Linked DNA regions of Homo sapiens: region 1 is linked to region 2. Evidence: promoter capture Hi-C in 16 types of primary human blood cells and fetal thymus (Javierre and others, 2016). All regions are on one chromosome and are shown on one strand. Each heading gives the region's core, a stretch centred on a gene start or on the middle of the fragment in contact. The rest is flanking DNA. Distances are from core to core; before and after follow the strand shown. Region 1 overlaps LINC02942 (long intergenic non-protein coding RNA 2942). Region 2 holds the start of CR1 (complement C3b/C4b receptor 1 (Knops blood group)).

Evidence for each region. The method cuts DNA at HindIII sites, captures the fragments that hold promoters and counts their contacts. A CHiCAGO score of 5 or more calls a contact.
Region 1: a fragment that was not itself captured here is called in contact with the fragment with the promoter of CR1 in region 2 in 1 of 17 cell types (M2 macrophages); the score reaches 5.0 in M2 macrophages.

Annotation. Positions count from the first base shown.
Region 1 is chr1:207,255,942-207,262,584 of GRCh38, forward strand. All of the region lies in intron 2 of LINC02942 (long intergenic non-protein coding RNA 2942), which reads left to right. All of the region lies in intron 1 of LOC107985251 (a long non-coding RNA gene), which reads right to left. Among named protein-coding and RNA genes, the nearest start is that of LINC02942, 19 kb to the left of the region's middle. The HindIII fragment of the contact is 1,860 bases long and covers 4,204-6,063 here.
Region 2 is chr1:207,492,275-207,499,415 of GRCh38, forward strand. It overlaps CR1 (complement C3b/C4b receptor 1 (Knops blood group)), which reads left to right and starts at 3,883. Exons shown (of 47, transcript NM_000651.6): 1 at 3,883-4,114. The coding sequence starts at 3,994. The HindIII fragment of the contact is 13,119 bases long and covers 1-7,141 here.

The DNA of each region.
Region 1 (6,643 bases), core at 3,884-6,383, 240 kb before region 2:
TTTCTCCCCAGAAAATGTCGTTTTGTTTTTTGTTTTTTTTTCCTATTGCATTGTCAGGCTGCAAATTTTCCAAACTTTTATGCTCTGCTTCCTCTTGAATGCCTTGCTCCTTAGAAATTTCTTCTGCCAGATACCCTAAATCATCTCTCTCAAATTCAAAGTTCCACAGATCTTTGGGGCAGGGGCAAAATGCTGCCAGTCTGTTTGCTAACACATAACAAGAGTCACCTTTGCTCCAGTTCCCAACAAGTTCCTCATCTCCATCTGAGACTACCTCAGCCTAGACTTCATTGTCCATATCAGTATCAGCATTTTGGGCAAAGCCATTCAACAAGTCTCTAGGAAGTTCCAAGCTTTCCCACATCTTCCTGTCTTCTGACCTCTCCAAGCCTCTTGGAAGTTCCAAACTTTCCCACATTTTCCTGTCTTTTTCTGAGCCTTCCAAATTGTTCCAACATCTGCCTGTTACACAGTTCCAAAGTCACTTCCACATTTTTGGGTATCTTTATAGGAGCAACCCACTATCTGAGGTACCAATTTACTGTATTGGTCCATTCTCACGCTGTTAATAAAGACACACCCAAGACTGGGTAATTTATAAAGAAAAGAGTTTTAATTGACTCACAGTTTAGCATGGCTGGGGAGGCCTCAGGAAACTTACAATCACGGCAGAAGGGGATGTAGATACACCCTTCTTTACATGGCAGCAGGAAAAAGTGCTGAGCAAAGGGGGAAAATCCCCTTATAAAACCATCAGATCTTGTGAGAACTCACTATCATGAGAACAGCATGGGGGAACTGCCCCCATCATTAAATTACCTCTTGCTGTGTCCCTCCCATGACATATGGGAATTATGGAAACTACAATTGAAGATGAGATTTGGGTGGGGGTGGGGCCACTTATTGTTATAAACTTTCCTCTTAATACTTTTGCTGCATTCCATGTTTTTGTCTTGCAATCTATTTTGTCTGATATGAGTATAGCTACTCTTGCTCTTTTTTGGTTTCCATCACCACAGAATATCTTTTTCCATCCCCTTATTTTCAGTCTATATGTGTCTTTTTAGGTGAAATGGGTTTCTTGTGTGCAACAGATCATCGAATCCTCTTTTTTTCATCCATTCTGATACTCTGTCTTTTTACTGGAGAGTTTAGTCCATTTACATTCAATATTATTATTGATAAGTAAGGACTTACTTCTGCCTTTTAAAAAATTTGTTTTCTGGTTGTTTTGTGGACTTCTCTTTCTTTTTTCCTTCTTTTCTGTCTTCCTTTTAGTGAAGATGATTTTCTCTGGTGGTATGATGTAATTTCCTGCTTTTTATTTTTGGTGTATACATTGTATTTTTTTTATTATAGGTTGCCATGAGGCTTGCAAATACTGTCTTATATCCCATTATTTTAAGTTGATAACATCTTAACACTGTTTGCATAAATAAACAAGCAAAAAGAAAACTAATAGAAACTCTGTTTTTTAACTTTGTGCCCTGCTTTTTAACTTCGTGTTGTCTCTATTTATATCTTATTGCACTACGTATTGAAAAGTTGTAGTTATTATTTTTGATTGGTTCATCTTTTAGTCTTCTACTTAAGATAAGACTTGTTTACATACCACAGTTACAGTGTTATCATACTGTGTTTTTCTGTGTACTTACTACTACCAGTGAGTTTTGTGCTTTCAGATGGTTTCTTACTATTCATAATGTCCCTTTCTTTCTGGATGAAGTGTTCCCTTTAGCATTTCTTATAGGACAGGCCTGGTGTTGATGAAATCCCTCAGCTTTTGTTTCTCTGGGAAAGTCTTTACATCTCTTCATGTTTGAAGGATACTTTTGCCAGATATACTATTCTAGGGTAAAAGTTGTTTTCCTTCAGCACTTTAAATATGTCATGCCACTCTCTTCTGGCCTGTAAGGTTTTCACTGAAAAGTCTGCTGCCAGACATATTGGAGCTCCACTGTATATCATTTGTTTCTTTCCTCTTGCAGCTTTTAGGTTCCTTTCTTTATCCTTGACCTTTGGGAGTTTGATTATTAAATGCCTTGAGATAGTCTTCTTTGAGTTAAATCTGCTTGGTGTTCTATAACTTTTTTGTACTTTGATATTAATACGTTTCTCTAGGCTTGAAAATTTCTCTATTCTTATCCCTTTGAATAAATGTCCTACTCTTATCTCTTTCTCTACCTCTTAAGGCCAATAACTCTCAGATTTGCCCTTTTGAAGCTATTTTCTAGATCTTGTAGGTGTGCTTTGCTTTTTGTTATTCTTTTTCTCCTCTGACTGTGTATTTTCAAGTAGGCTGTCTGCAAGCTCACTAATTCTTTCTTTTGCTTGATCTATTCTTCTGTTAAAAGATTCTGATACATTCTTCATTGTCAACTGCATTTTTCAACTCCAGAATTTCTTCCTAATTCTTTTTAATTATTTCTATATCTTGGTTAAATTTATCTGACAGAATTCTGAATTCCTTCTTTGTGTTTTCTGTAATTTCTTTGGGATTCCTCAAAACAGGTATTTTGAAAACTTTTCCTGAAAGGTCACATATCTCTGTTTCTCCAGAATCAGTCCCTGGTAACTTACTTAGTTCATTTTGTAAAACCATGTTTTCATGGATGGTCTGGATGCTTGTGGATGTTTGCCAATTTCTGGAAATTGAAGAGTTAGGTATTTATTGAAGTCTTTGCATTCTGGGCTTGTTTGTGCCTGTCCTTGGGAAGGCTTTTGAGATATTCAAAAGGACTTGGGTGGTGTAACCTAAGCCATGTCTGCATTAAGGGGGACCCCAAATCCACTAATACTGTAGTTATTGCAGACTCATAGAGGTACCACCTTGGTGGTCTTGGATAAGATCTGGAAGATTCTCTGGATTACCTGTTCTCTTTTCTTATTTTCTCCCAAACAAACAGGGCCTCTCTCTTTCCATGCTGAGCTGTCTGGAGCTGGGATTAAGGTGACACAAGCACCTCCATGGCCACCATCACTACTGTGCTGGGTCAGGCCTGAAGCCATCACAGCACTAGGTCTCGCCCAAGGCTCACTGTAATGACTACCTTTCTACTGCCTATGTTTGGTGAAGGCTCTAGGGCTCTACAATCAGCAGGTGATGACTCCAGCCAGGCTTGTGTCCTTCTCTTCAGGGAAGCAAGTTTTCGACACCCTTGGTAGGTATAGAGATGGCATCTAGGAGTCAGGGACTGGAGTTGAAAACCTTAGGAATCTACTTGGTATTCTATTGTCCTGCAGCTGAGCTGACACTCAAACCACAAGACCCAGTCCTTCCCATTCTTCTCTCCCCTTTCCATAGGCAGAGGAGCTTCATTCCACGGCTACCACCACCACAGGCCCACAGTGAGTCCTGCCAGGCTACCACCAATGTTCACTAAAGGCACAAGGACTCTTCAGTTAGCTTGTGGTGAATGCCGCCAGGCCTGGGACTCACTTTTCAGGGAAGTGGGCTCCACTCTGGTCCAGGGAATGTCCAGAAATGCCATCCAAGAGCCAAGGCCTGGAAATAGGGACCCCCAAGAGCCTGCTTGATGGTTTGCCCCTGTGGTTGAGCTGGTATGTAAGGTACAAGACAAAGTCCCCTTTACTTTTCCTTCTGCTTTTCTCCAGCAGGAGGAGTCATTCCATAGCCACAACAACTGGGAATGTGCTGGGTCTCACTTGAAGCCAGCATGTCTCAGAATCTTACCCAAGGCCCAGAGTGTACTACCTGGGTCTCACTACTGATTATTCAGGGCCCAAGCCTCTTTAGTCAGCAGGTGATGAGGTACTGCTGGAACTGGGTCCTTCTCTTCAAGGCAGCAGTTTCCCTTCTGGCCCAGGGTATGTCTAGAAATGTCATCCAGGAGCTAGAGCCTCGAGTGGGGGCTTCACAATTCTGACTGGTACCCTATCTTACTGTAGCTGAACTTGTATCCAAGATGCAAGACAAAGTCCTTATTACTCTTGCCCTTCTTCTCCTCAAGCAAAAGCAAGAGGTCTCTTTTGGAGCCACGAGCTGTGCTGTCTGAGGTTTGGGGAGGGGTAGCACAAGCCCTGGCTGCCCTGGCTGATGTCCCAGTAGGTCACATGCCCCCCAGTTCCACGGGCTCTGAGCCCAGCTCAGAACTAGGACTTGCCTTGGAGTTGCAGTCCTTGTGGCCCAGATTACATTTCAAGTTTATTTAGGCCTCAAAGCACTTTAGCCTGTGGTGGCAAAGCTTGCTGGAACTCAAATTCCAACTACTGGGATGGGTGATTCCCATCTGGTGAGGGCTCCTCAAACTGCTTCCTCTATAGGTGGGCATCTGCTGAGTTCAGCCTTATTTTGCTTTTCGCTGTGACAGGGGAGCACTGAGGTCAATGCAAAGTCTCACAGTTGCTGCATTCTCCCTCTCCCAAGCACACAGATTCTCTCTCTGCCTCATGTGGCCACTGCCAGGGTATGGGGTAGTGGTGTCAGCAATTCAAGACTGTCTTTCCTATTGTCTTTGGTGCCTCTGTCAGCAGTAGGAAGTTAAAACCAGGTACTGTGAGTGTTCACCTAGTTTTTGGTTCTCACGAAGATGCTTTTATTGTGTAGATAGTGTTAAATTTGGTGCTTCTGTAGGAGGGACAATCAGTGGAGATGTCTATTCAACTATCTTGCTCCTCCCCTCTTTCCAGATCTAATTTTTAATTTTTTATTGCTATACTATGGTTGTACACATTTGGGGGTGCATGTAATATTTTGACACATGTATATAATGTGTAATTATTCAATCATTGTAATTGGGATATCTATCACCTTAAACATTTATCTTTGTGTTGAAAACATTACAGTTCTCTTCTAGCTATTTGGAAATATACAATAAATTATAGCTAACTATCAAATACCAGAAATTACTCCTTCTATCAATCGTATTTTTGTATCCCTTAACCAACTTCTGTTCATCAGTCTCCCCCTACTTCCCTTGCAATGTAATTTCTGACATTCCTGACTGTCATATCTAATCACTTCTAATCAGAATAACAATGACATTAAAAATGTCATTTAGGCCAGGCACGGTGGCTCACACCTGTAATCCCAGCACTTTCGGAGGCCGAGACGGGCAGATCACCTGAGATCAGGAGTTTAAGACCAGCCTGGACAACATGGCAAAACCCTGTCTCTACTAAAAGTACAAAAATTAGTTGGGCATGGTGGCGAGTGCCCGTAATCCCAGCTACTCAGGAGGCTGAGGCAGGAGAATTGCTTGAACCCAAGAGGTGGAGGTTGCAGTGAGCTGAGATCACGTCACTGCACTCCAGCCTGAGCGACAAGAGAGAGACTCCGTCTAAAAAAAAAGAAAAAGCCCTTCAGATTTAGAGTTACTAGTGAACCTTTTCAAAGAATCTAAGTATATATTCTAGATGTGGCACAGAGTGAGAAGTCTCCTTATGTGCTTTATATTAAGATTCTGTCAGTTGATGAATAAATATATGATATTTGTATTACTATAAATATGTCCTATATGTACACTACTATGATTAATGATGACTGTTAAAGCTATTTATTGTATGTGCAAAAAAACTTTTTAATATTTAAATAATAGGAAAATTGTTTCACAGTTAATATAAATATCAATAGTGCATTATTTAGAGAACATTAAGAAAAACATAATTTTTCTGCCAACAAACATCTAATAAAATTAAATAATTGTACATGTCAACATACAAATACCTGTAGCATTTCTATACAACAATATCAAACTAGCTGAAAAGGAAGTCAAGAAACCATTTACAATTGCAACAAAAAAATAAAATACCTAGGAATAAATGTAACTAAGGAGGTGAAAGACATCTATAAGAAAAATTACAAAACACATTGATGGAAGAAATTGATGACACAAAGAATTGGAAAAACATCCCAAGCTCATGAATTGGAAGAATTAATATTGTCAAAATCACCATACTGCACAAAGTAATCTAAAGATTCAGTGAAACCCGAGCAATAAATATCAGTGATATTCTTCACAGAAATAGCAACAACAATCTAAAATTCACATGGAACTAAAAAAGAGCCCTAGTAGCCAAAGCAATCCTGAGCAAAAAGAACAAAGCTTGAGGCATCATGTTATCTGATTTCAAAATATAATACAAGGCTATAGTAACAAAAACAGCATGGTGTTGGTATAAAAATAGACCTGTGGAAGAGAATAGAGAACCCAGAAATAAAGCCACATATTTGCAGCTAACTCATCTTTGACAAAGCTGACAAGAATTTACACTGGGGAAAAGACATCCTCTTTACTAAATGGTGCTGGGTAAACTGGATTGCCACATGCAGAAGAATGAAACTGAATACCTATCTCTCACCATATTAAAGAATCAACTCAAAATGGATTAAAGACTTAAATGTAAGACCAAAATCTATAAAAATACTAAAAGAAAATCTAGGGAAAAGTCTCCTGGATATTGGCCTAGGCAAAGAATTTGTAACCTCAAAGAACCTCAAAGTACAGGCAGCAAAAACAAAAATAGACAAATGGGATTTAATCTAACTAAAAAGCTTCTACACAGCAAAAGAAAAAATCAACGGAGTGAAGAGACAACTTGTAGAATGAGAGATAATATTATTCATCCAACAGAGGACTAGTATCCAGAAAACACAAAAACATCAATACAAAGAACACAAATA
Region 2 (7,141 bases), core at 2,633-5,132:
TGCACGTCTCATCAGCTTAGCCTTCCAGTACAAAGAGCCTCTCGTCCAATAAGTCTTTCAAAAGTCCCTTCAATAGCTTTCATTCTCCAAATAGGGTTACATGCCCCCAAAGGAAACAATAACTAGGAGCAGGACAGTGAAATAAACACAGGGCAAGGCCTGAGTTGCCTGCCCAGCCTTGGAGATGGGGGTAGGGTTGGTCTACCTCATTGGTTCTCAGGTGGGATGATTTTGCCCTCCCAAGGACATTTGGCAGTGTCTAGAGACATTTTTGGTTACTACAACTGAAGGACGGAAGGGCTTCCAGCCTCTAGTAGGTAGAGGCCAGGGATACTGCCAAACATCCTCCAAGGCAAAAGACAGCCCTCCAGAACAAAGAATTATCTGGTCCACGATGTCAATAATATTGAGGTCGAGAAACCATAGTCTTCCAGAATCACACTGAACTATGGGAAAGAGGGGATTTCCCAGTGGAAAAATCTAGGGGCAAATCCCAGAGGAAGGGACCCATTTAGAGCAACAGATATCCACCTTCACCTCCATCTGAAAAAAATCTTCCCCCAAACCATCTATGTTTCTCGTTTAAACTACCTCTCTTACACCAAATTTTCTGAAAGAGTGGTTGGCCTTAGCTGTCTCAACCACTGTAGTCATTCATTCAAGTGATGATAATTATGGAGCTCCTTCTGTGTGCTAAGCATTATTTTAGGTCATGGGATTTGGCAGTCGTAAACTGACATGTTCTCATGCAGCTTTTATTCTGGTGGGAGAGACACACAATAAGCAGATTTTCAGTTGGTAATAAAATGAAAAAATGATAAGTATAATTTTTTAATCTATATGAAACAGGCAAAAAGGAAAGGAAGTTCTGAATTAATGTGCAATTTTAAATAGTGGCCAAGGAAGGCTCCATTAAGAAGGTCTCATTTGAGCCAAATAACTCAAGGAGATGAGGTAGTAGCCATGCAGAGCGATATCTGGGCAAAGAGCATTCTAAGCAAAAGGAATATTAAATGGGAGGAAAAAACTGAAGAGAAAAATACACCTGCTGCACTTGGAGAAATAATTTGTTTGCAAGCTGATGGTAAAAATCCAGCAGAAAGAGGTGTATGATAGTGCTGGAGGAAGTGAGAATTGCTGGTTTCCTTGAGTGAGTGAGAGCAAATCGAATCTAGGGCACAAGTGGAGAGATCACCCTTAGACTTAGACTGTGAACAGTATAATTATATTAACAGGAGAGACGGAGGTTTCATGGGCCAAATACAAGAATTTGGGTGGAGTGATGGTAGAAAATTGTAGATCTATTTGATTGTTTCTATTTTCTCAATAAAGAAAGAAACAAAGCCATTCACAGAAATTAAGAATGTTGGAGAAGGTGTCAGAAATAAATGTCAAAATAAAAATATGAAATAGTCATTTAGGAGAATGGGAGAATAAATGGATTAGACAAACAATAGTGGGAATGTCAGGCAGAAGTATAATGGTCCATTTGAAATTATTTGTTACTAAAGTAAGGCTAGTCATTGTGGCTATGTGTCTTTTCCAGCCACATTCAGTTTCACAGGTATGAGAGCAAAATAATGGAGAATTGATTCTAACCAGGAATGTTGTTTTGTCTAATGGCTATAATAACCCAAGAGAAGGGTGAGGGAGCTAACAGTGGGTGCAAGATGGTGATTATAATGACAGAGTATGGAATTTAACCTGGTAGTGATGAAAGTGAAGACACAAAGGAGGTGAGAAGCTGAGAGAGATAGCGGTAGGATCAATGGGCTGCAGGCACTGAGACAGACAAAGATTGCTGGATTCAGTTTAACGTTACTAGGGTAAAAGAAAAGAGTTGGATTGGTGGTTAGAGAGTGGGATCATTGAAATCACTGAGAGGTTGAAAGTGACAAGTCTCCGAGCATGCACATGAGCATTAGAGTCAGAGGAGAGTGGAGGACAAGACCACAGGCAGAGAAGAGGTCAAGGCACTGGAAGGCCAGGGATTTGAAAATACTATTGCTGTGAATGTTGAAATCACCAGGAACTGTGGCAGAAGTAACAGTGGAGAAGGTGGCCATGAGCCAGGAGCTCAAACTTTCAAGGAATGAGGGAGAAAGTAGATACTAGGAGATGGATACCAGCAGAAGTGGTAAGGAGTGGCACCTTCTGATAGCATGTGATGTAAAACTGGGGAAATGAGCCTTCTCCTCTTCTCTTTTCCTAAGCCTACTACAATCTGGCTGCTACTCCCATTACTCTGTTGAGAATAACTTGAAATGATGATAGCAAATCCTTAAAAGAATGTCACTGGATGTACTAAAAACTGTGATAAGTGATATGATCAAAGTAGACATTTCTTCCACTAGAATTTTGGGAGGAAGCCTAATGGAAACCAATGCGCACAGAAAGACAAATGCTGTATGTTATTAGTCATATGTGGACTCTAAAAAACTCATCTCATAGAAGTAGAGGGTAGAATACTGGTTACCAGAGGCTGGGGAAGGGAGAGACAATGGGAGATGGAGAGAGATTGGTTAAAGGGCACAGGATCACAGATAGATAGGAGGAATACATTCATCCTTGAATACTTAACCCTCTGCCCTAAATCTGTCAGTCCTACATCCATACTTCTTATTTCAGTAAGTAGCACCACCATTCATTTCTAATCCTGGGGCTAACTCTTTTTTTTTTTTCTTTTCTGAATCATGTCTCCTTTTAATGGTTAAGGAAAACAAGTTTAACATAAAATTAGCAACAACAACAACAACAACAACAAAATCAAGGTTTAAAGTCAAAATTATTTTAAGAGAAAAACCCAGGCAAAATAGCCTACCTACAGGCAGGCAGTACATGTCAGAAGGACAGGCCACCCCCAATAAAAAAGATAAAATATTATTTTTTCTACCTTTTTTAAACTTAATTATTTAATTATTTCTTTCTTTTTTCTTTTTTTTGTTTCTTTTTTTTATTATACTTTAAGTTTTAGGGTACATGTGCACAACGTGCAGGTTTGTTACATATGCATACATGTGCGACGTTGGTGTGCTGCACCCATTAACTCGTCCTTTACATTAGGTATATCTCCTAATGCTATCCCTCCCCCCTCCCCCCACCCCACAACAGGCCCCGGTGTGTGATGTTCCTCTTCCTGTGTCCATGTGTTCTCATTGTGGAAGCTGGAAACCATCATTCTCAGCAAACTACCGCAAGGGGGCTAACTCTTGATTGCTTTCTTCTCACCACCAACCTTAAGAAAGGAAGTAACCAAAATCCAATACATGAGCAACTGTTCATTCCATCTCCAATATCTTTGTTAATTGTCCACTTTATCCACCCAGTCAGGGCCGCCATCAAACCTCACTTGGATGTCGGCAAAAGCTCCCCTGACTGGTCTTCGCAGTCCATTATTGCCCTATTCTAATCTACCTTCCATACTATACACAGATTTACATTTTTTAAATGTGTATCTAATTGTCCCTCCCTTTTAAAAAATCTTACAATGGCATGACGTCTCAATTCAGGGTAAGGAAATTGTTTCTTCACATTCCCTGTACACCGTACACATCGCCTGCAATTGCCCTTCAACACGGAGAGCAGGCATTTCATTAGCTGACCTTCCCACACACATTCTTGCAAAGAGGAAAAGTTAAGCAGGGTGTTTGGAGGCGAGCTGCCATCATCCACCGCCTTTGTCTGGAAGCGCAGGGCCTCACACGCGGGATCCATCGGAAGCCCGAGCATTGTCAAGCTCTGCTGCTGCACCTGGGTCAGCAAGGTGGGCTCTGCCAGCGAAACTCGTTAGAAACAATGCAAATGGGGAGTAAACATGACCTCGCCCATGAAGGGGAAGCTGTGGTCAAAAGCATTTTGTCCCGGAACCCCGCAGCCCTCCCCACACTCTGGGCGCGGAGCACAATGATTGGTCACTCCTATTTTCGCTGAGCTTTTCCTCTTATTTCAGTTTTCTTCGAGATCAAATCTGGTTTGTAGATGTGCTTGGGGAGAATGGGGGCCTCTTCTCCAAGAAGCCCGGAGCCTGTCGGGCCGCCGGCGCCCGGTCTCCCCTTCTGCTGCGGAGGATCCCTGCTGGCGGTTGTGGTGCTGCTTGCGCTGCCGGTGGCCTGGGGTGAGAGGCGGGCGGGCGTGGGGAGGCGCCCGGGCGGACGAGGAACCCGGGGCCCCGCAGAGAACTCGCGTGCAGCGCTGAGCTGCGCTGCTCTGCGCGCCCGGGTCCGAAGGCAGCGCGATGGGTGGGCTGAGCGCGCGACCCGGCAGGGCGGCGGGTGTAGGATCCTTCTGCGCACTGGAGACCCTCGCTGCTTCTGGGTAAGCGTGGAGTTCCCAGGTGCAGGGGCTTAAGTCGTGACGAGCGCAGTGGAAGGCGCAGATGCTGAGCGGGTGCCGCACGAAATTCCTTGCCTTTGTGTATTCACAGCCTCGGCTGGCTATAGCCAAGACGTGGCGTTGATCCTAGTGAAAGGGAACTTGGGGATCCGACAAACCTGAGTTCTGGTCCTAGAAACTTAACTGTGAGGCAACTTAGCACACCTGAGTCTGTTTGCTCTTCTGTAAAATGGGGACACTGGTATCTCTGCATCGTGGAGTTGCTGCCTCAGTGGCATTAAGCCTGTCGAGTATCTAACACAGGGCTATGTGTCCCCGAGTCCATTTCTATCCCCCAACCGTTACCTCTGTACTTTGCTCCCAATGGTGTTTAGACAAGCAGTCCTAGGGATGCAGGTGTTACCTGACAACTGCCCCGCATGGAACTGTCCTCGCCCCCCACACCAAGCCACCACGGCCATCATCACCATGCACTTAATTGACAGCATACTTTAAGACAGATGCATGCCAGGCACTTGCGGATTAGAAGAGCAAGGGAAGCCCCAGAACATGCAATGTAACCGTTGCAGGTAGAAGGGACAGTAGATATGTTTACAGTTCGCATTTTAGTGATGTGTTTAGTACAAAATAACGCCTATTATAATTATTATGGAAATTTTGAGGCCACATCTCTTCCTTTTTCTTAACTTCAAATAGGTAAACATCTTCAGTTAGAACCCTTCTATTATTATTTTTCGGCTCCCCAGAAGTCTTCTTGGTTGCCTAGACTCACTGGCAACATCTCATTTGAAGTGACAGTCTTGGTTGTTTTTGTCCAGCCTATTCCTGACAACTCCGGGTTCGCCCTTCTCTGCCACTAGACATTTTACATTCATTATTTGAGTGTTCCTTCTTCTCTAAAAGAGTAAATAAAATAAAATAAAGTAGAACCAAGTCCCGCAAGAGTTGTTATTAATATTTGATCTCCTTAGGCACCAGAAAGTAACCTGTCAGGTGCAGAGATGTGATAAAACGTACAATCTTATTTTTAGGAGAGAAGCATGCCCAGTAAGTTAAGCAATCTGTTGTCAACGCTTAGGAATTTGTGTCATCTTTGGGAGTACTGGCCCTCTTCTTACTAGAATGTTGTTTTACTTAGCCTATGTTGATTAAGTTACTGTTATAAACAATCCCAGACACTATTAATTGCAAAAAAAAAATTTACTGAGGTTATCACAATAACTTCCAAATGTGAAACAGCCTAAACTAAACTACCTAGAAATTTTGTTGCTGACATAATTTAAATTTTAAAATGCTGATGGATGCTTCCAGTGTGCACGGTCCTTTGGAATTTTAAAGAAGTATAAGAGCTCTGCACCCAAAGTGTATGCATATAGAAGTAGGTGGTGGAGTTTTATGAAATCTACTTATTAGGAAGCCAGCGTTCTGCTTTTTCCAGCCTCTGCTACTTACCAGCTGGTGTCTTGGACCCAGTAAGTTAAGTCACATCACTGACCTTCAGTGTCCACATGTATAAAATGAGCACAACTGACATCCTGATCTCTGAGAGAGACGTTTTGAAAATCAGATGGTGTAATGCATGTGACAGTGTTTTGTAATCTGAAAACCCCCATGCATGTCTGAAAAACCATGACTAAGAAGTCGTGCAAGACTGCAGGATCACCGAAAAGCGAGAAATCTCAACTCCTATGATCAGGAAAGGATGAGTGAAAGGTATATGGCTTTACTAGCACTTAAAGAGTGAATCTAGAAACAGATTGCATACGACAAAAAATAGCAGAGGAGCTAGGATTGTTTTGTTATTATGAGTTACTCACAGTACCCGTAAAGTGGTATAGTGCTATTTGAAAGAGGACTTAGATTAGCTGCAAATAGATATTGCAAATGTAGGACAACCCCTGAAAAATGTGAAAAAAAGAACTATAATTTATATGTTAATAAGTAAGAGAGAATTGCATCATATAAAATGCTCAGTTAAAACAATAAAGATGGCTGGGGACAGTGGCTCATGCCCATAATCCCAGCACTTTGGGAGGCTGAGGTGGGTGGATCACCTCAAGTCAGGAGTTCAAGACCAGCCTGGCCAACATAGTGAAACCCTGTCTCTACAAAAACACAAAAATTACCAGGGCATGATGGTGGGTGCCTGTAGTCCCAGCTACTCGGGAGGCTGAGGCATGAGAATCGCTTGAACCTGGGAGGCGGAGGTTGCAGTGAGTCGAGATCGTGCCATTGCACTCCAGCCTGGGTGACAGAGCGCAACTCCAAATCAAAAAAAAAAAAAAAAGAAACAAACAAACAAAACAAAAAACAATAAAGGGCAGGAAAAGAATGGAAGACAAAAAATAGAAACAGAGAACAAGAGAAAAAAAGCAACAAATAAAAACCAGTAACAAAACTAAAGCAACTATATCAACAATCATTTTGAGTGTCAATGATCGAAATGCACCATTTGAAACAGATCATCAGAGTGGATCAAGAAACAAGACCCAACTATATACTGTGTACAACAAGACCGTTTTAAATATAGACAATATATATGAAAAGTAAATGGATAAAGATATACCATGCTAATGCTAGTCACAGAAAGCAGGAATAGCTGTGTTAATTTCAAACACAGCAGACTTCAGACCAAGAAAAATTATTAGGGATAAAGAGGGGCATCATATAATGATAAAGGGGCCAATTATCCAAGAAGACGTAACAATATCCCATATGTATGCACCTGATGGAGAGACAAAATACGTGAGGCAAAACCCATAGAACTGCAAGGAGAAATAGATGGATTTACTATCATAGTTGGAGACTT